Regions from separate parts of the Homo sapiens genome. Here region 1 is linked to region 2. The links are contacts of gene promoters, found by promoter capture Hi-C in human tissues and cell types (Jung and others, 2019). All regions are on one chromosome and are shown on one strand. The core of a region is centred on a gene start or on the middle of the fragment in contact, and the rest is flanking DNA. Distances in the headings are between cores, read along the strand shown. Region 1 overlaps RCAN2 (regulator of calcineurin 2). Region 2 holds the start of CDC5L (cell division cycle 5 like).

Region 1 (2,700 bases), core at 194-2,693, 1.9 Mb after region 2:
TAGACAAAAACAGTGTTTTAAGCATCAGATGAAATATTACATATGAGTTCAATGTCTTATCTTCCCAGCTTTATACCCCAATAACTTTTCTTTTATTTATTCATTTATTTATTTTTATTTTTTGAGATGGAGTCTCTCTCTGTCGCCCAGGCTGGAGTGCAGTGGCATGATCTCGGCTCACTGCAAGCTCCACCTCCCCGGTTAAGGCCATTCTCCTGCCTCATCCTCCCAAGTAGGTGGGAGTACAGGCGCCTGTCACCATGCCCGGCTAATTTTTTTTTGTATTTTTTAGTAGAGACGGGGTTTCACCGTGTTAGCCAGGATGGTCTCGATCTCCTGACCTTCTGATCTGCCCGCCTCGGCCTCCCAAAGTGTTGGGATTACAGGCGTAAGGCACCGCGCCCGGCCTATACCCCAATAATTGATTAATGCTTTATTAATTAATCCTTAGAGAGATTTCGATAGTGGAAAGAACAGTTCAAGTCCCACTTCTGCCAATTAATAGCTGTGTAATCTTGTGTAAAAAGGTAACTTCTCTGAATATCAGGAATCTGTTTATAATGGGGCAACTACATAGATGCCTTGGGCTATAATGGGGATTATATGAAGTACCTGTTATATGCCTTGTAGTTAGAAGAATTTTGTGATTGGAAACAGTAGTTGGAAGTTTTAAAATTGCCCACCTTGATAACATATAATATTGATCCATGGAGATGAATATCTCTGGAGCTTACATTTGTCACCATGTGGTGACATGTGGGATGGTTTAATGCTCAACTTAGTAAACAGTCCCCTGAGGTTAAATGTTTGGGGTACAGCATGAACACTGCTCACATATTTCTATAGAACTACCAGAGGTAGGGGAAGAAAATCTTACAATTAAATAGCAAAGTATCCTATTGTTGGAGCAAATAAAACATTATTGAAGATGTTGTTTTAGGAAATGAAAGTTAGTACATAGTCCAATCTAACAGAAGCATAGATAGGTTAAAGTCATCTTTCTGGAAGCTAAAGGATCAAGACCTTTTTGAAACATTAAAAAAAAGTATAGTTCAGAGCTGATATATTAGATTCTGGAAAGAATAACTGTTGTAGTACTAGACTGTAAGGATGTGGACACTGCTATGGTATATAACAATAAAAAGAGAAGATAATGAATTTCTTAGTCCCCTTCACTCCCAGGGGAGTTTCCTTTAGCAATTGTTCAAGTTTCTATTCAACTCACTTGCCAAGAATCTTCTTTGGGCCCTTAATCCCTTGATGTAGTTAAAAGCACGCAATTACCATTAACTAGTTAGATGTGCCATTGTAGAATAGGTAGAGGATCCAGAAAAAACCTTCTATGGTAACAGAAGGTTAAAAAAAAAGAGAAATATATAGTAAATATGCATGTTATACATACATTTGCACATGTGTATAATATCCGTATATACATATATGTACACACATATGTTTTACCCAGGTATACTTACCCAAAAGGTGAACATGAAATTACATATATCGAACCTTTTCTAGGGAAGGTCTAACTTGGTAGACATTTTATTCTCAAAAACTTTGACAATTAACTCTCCATTCTAGCTAGAGTGGAATGGGTATATATAACTTTGTACCTGCTCAAAATTTCCAGTTGAAATTACCTCTCCATGTGTTTTTAAAATTCTATTTTTGAAATAGTTTAGCTTTAGCATTGGGAAAGGATACAGAACCTTTACATAAATACATTTGTCCCTTTACATAAAGAAATTCTAGGCCAGGTATGAGTTGGATAGTTTATGATCTCCTTGCAAAGCTGGGCTAGTCACTGCAAAGTTGCAATGCCTATTAAGCCCATTAAGCTTACCACCTAAACACATAAAGTGATAATAAGTGTTTCAGGTATCATTTTCTTTCTTATGTGTCAATTCTAAGCTTTATCAGAAAGTACTAAAACAAACCCATATAAATTACTGATAGTTGGACTCAAACAGAATCACTAAGACTGCAAATGGCACTCTCTGAATTTTACATTAAAATCTGTTTCTTTAGGAAAACAATTTTTCATTAAAATTGCTGTTTTGTTTTAATATATCTGACATTTAGGTTAGAGGTAGCAACTGCCAATGTCTGTTACTTCTCAACAGTTAAAAGATTCTTTAAACAGATAAACAAGTTTTTAGTTGATTTCCCCACTTAACAATGTTATTAGTTGAACGGTCTACCTTGTCTTTACCAAATGTGATAGGTGGCTGAGAAATCTGCCTCTGAACCTTCTCAGGGAGTATCACTTTCATAAAATCATTTCTTCCCTCTCTCTGAAAGATGTTTGCTACTTTCTTCAGAGGCAAGAAAATGTTTAGTATTGTACATTTAAGAATGTTAAGTTCTTAAAGAATTGTTTTAGAGATCATTAATTTTAACTTTCAGTTTTGCATTAATTCATTTATTTCCAAAATGGCCTCAATTCTAGTCCATGTTATTACCGGAGAAATAGCAACATTTGTTTTGCTGGAGGGTTAGAATCTGTTATACACATGCCATCTCTCTTGCCACCTCACACACACACTGCCTTTTGTTCTTCATAAACCAAAGATGGTCTAGAGATGTATGACAAAATATTATTTTTAATATTACTATTATGGTCATTGAATAGGGAATGAGCATTTCAGTTGACTTCACGTTTTGGTTACTGAACGTTAATTACCATGAATACCTCTAGAGGGT
Region 2 (2,700 bases), core at 161-2,660:
CCCATTTACCCTGATGTGATTATTATGTGTTGTATGCCAGTATCAAAATATCTCATGTACCCCATAAATATGTGTGTACTATGTACCCACAAAAATTAAATATAACAAATTAAAAAAAAACCGCCCCATTACAGGAGAGGTCCAAATGAAAACATTTTGTTTGAGTTTAACTGGCCACAGGTCCAATGGTTTCTTATACACCACACAGTGGGTAAACAGCTCAAGGGCGGGCTGCCCGCCAGCATAAACCTTTGAGTGGCAAACACTACCAGGGTGGCCATGGAAAATGCCCTCTTGCTGACCATAATTGCACAGAATGTGTGTAAATAAAAGCTAAAAGGAAAAAGAAAATTCTGTAGCTCTTCCAGAAGAGGCAAACGGAGAAATGAAGAAATATAAAGAGATAGGCACTATATAAATACTAAGTACTATAAATAGGGCATTTCCCAACCCACTAAATATTTTGATATTTTCCAGGGATGGAGCCAGAGATGTTCTGGAAGGATGAAGGAGACTGCATGAGTAATTGGGGTGGGGTAGCAGAGAGTTTGCCAATCCCTACCTCACTGGGTTTTAGTTATGTTTCAGTTAATCTGCCTCCTCATTTACGAGGCGGGTATTGTTAGCTCCACTTTTCAGATGAGGATACTGAGATTCAGTAAGGTTATTACCCAAACTTATGAGAAAGCCAAGATTTCACAATATTTCAACCCAACTCGACTTTGTCTAATACCAGTGCGTACCAATGGCATTATTAATCCAGACTGGGCGATGAATTAAAAACTCTGACGTGACGTTTCTGCAGGTTTCTGGAAGAAGCCTGGATCACCTGGGGACGGGGTGAAGTTGGCGTTGCCCTCCTTGCAGTAATAGCTGCTATTGTTTTGCAGCAGTTATTATGGATCAGATACTGTGCTGGGTCTATGATCTCATTTAGCCCTTACGACAATCCTGTGAGGTTGGCATTACTATGATCTCTATTTTACAGGTTAGGAAACTGAGCCTTAAATAAACTACTGGATTTTCCTGAGTATTCTGTGAATAAATTCCTATTACTGAAATACTTGAAAGGGCTAGATTAATAAATTAACAAAGCCTTCTTCGGAGCAACTGTGCTGAAATTCCGTACGCGTGACGTTCCCACCCTCTGCCACTCGGTGACGTCACGATCAATCCCACCACTAAGTTCCCAGCCAAGCGCTACCGCCGCTATCTCGCGAGAGCCGTAGTTTCTTCCATTCTGTTTTGGACATGCGCGGGGCGTAAGGCGCTTTGGCCAGAGTGGTTTGATGGTTTTGTGTTAGTCTTCCTGCAGCTGAGCTTCCACAAGACACTTTTTCCCTTTCAGCCACCCAATATCTCGCGAGACTTGCTATTCTGCGCCCCCTCCCACCTTGCGCTTGCGCAGATCTTCAAAGCAGAAGGTCGCGCTTGGAGGAAGTGGCGGCTTTGAGTCCGGTGGCCCAATCGCTGTTACTACTTCTCTGAAGCTCCTCTCGGCTGCTTGCCGAGACACCCTGCCGCCAAGATGCCTCGAATTATGATCAAGGGGGGCGTATGGAGGAATACCGAGGTAAGTCTCCTTTTCCCGCCGTCCGCTGCCCGCCGCTCCCTCTAGCAGCTTGTGCGCACGCGCGCGGAGGTCGGGGGGGCGACGAGGAGACCCTGTGGGGTCTGCGTGGAGGGCAGCCCGGGGGCTGACCCTTGGGGCCCTTTCCGTGTGTCTGGCCCCGTGTTGTGCGAGCGCCAGTAGGACAGGGACCGTGATGTCACCACCTGGCTACTCGGCTCCAAGCTCACTTGTTAGGCCCTGAGTGAACATTTGTTGACTTGAATACGCCCCCTCCCACCCCGCCCCCCCGCCCCCCCCGGCCCCGGGAAGAACTCAGAGTTCCAACTCAGCCAGAGTTGGTCCCCCGGGGCACCATCCACTCTTAGTCCAGGCACCACGACTCTGTCTCATACTCAGAAATAAAGAAGTTGCCGTGGCCACAACTTTGTGTCTCCATTGACTTCCTTGCAGAGGGGAAGCAGTTTGAGTGCCAGGTTCAGAGAGCCCGTTTATGCCCGCATCTCTCTGGTTATCTGTTATCAGGGCATAACCTGTCTGCCATCTCGACAGATCCCAAGGTCTGTCTCTTTCTGTCACTGCCTTTGCCTAGATAGAAGCCAGAAAGGAAAAACTGGCCTAGGATAGTCTCTGTTTCCAGAAACGTAGTGGATAGTGCCATTGGTGAGCCAAAGGGCAGTAGAGTGGGAGTGAAATAGAAATTAGATTTTAGTGCGTTTTGTGTTCAGAGTGTACCGAATTTATCAGTTTCTGGAGCACATCATGTCTTTTCATGCTCTGTGTCTTTTTTTCGTTACATTTTATGGCTTCTTTTTTTTTTTTTTTTTACATCTTTTGCCTTCCTAGCGCTTGACATCTTTCTGATCATCCTTCAAACCTAGTTCGGAAACACTTCTTGGAATCTCTGTAAGAATTAATTGCACCCCCGATATTCTCATGATACCTTTTTCTTCCGTTTGTTAAAACTTGCTTTGTCTTTTTGTAAGCATCACATCCTCTGTGTGGTACTCGGTAAGTTTCTTAACTTCTGAAAGCCTCAGTTTTCTACTTTTTCTAAATTGGGATAATAATACTTAACCTCTCTTGAGGATTACACGAGTTAATACGTTTGGAATATTTAGATCAGAGTA

Evidence for each region. Contacts are between HindIII fragments. The study calls those that stand out against the background at their distance.
Region 1: a fragment that was not itself captured here is called in contact with the fragment with the promoter of CDC5L in region 2 in 1 of the 25 tissues and cell types used here (hippocampus).

The regions. Positions count from the first base shown.
Region 1 is chr6:46,317,357-46,320,056 of GRCh38, forward strand. The region is part of intron 2 of RCAN2 (regulator of calcineurin 2); the gene reads right to left. The region is part of intron 2 of LOC101926915 (a long non-coding RNA gene); the gene reads left to right. Among named protein-coding and RNA genes, the nearest start is that of ENPP5, 150 kb to the left of the region's middle. The HindIII fragment of the contact is 3,116 bases long and covers 1-2,700 here.
Region 2 is chr6:44,386,296-44,388,995 of GRCh38, forward strand. CDC5L (cell division cycle 5 like) reads left to right here and starts at 1,411. Exons shown (of 16, transcript NM_001253.4): 1 at 1,411-1,573. The coding sequence starts at 1,529. LOC124901323 (a long non-coding RNA gene) reads right to left here and starts at 1,624. Exons shown (of 4, transcript XR_007059595.1): 1 at 744-1,624. RefSeq lists an enhancer at 1,293-1,492. The HindIII fragment of the contact is 26,922 bases long and covers 1-2,700 here.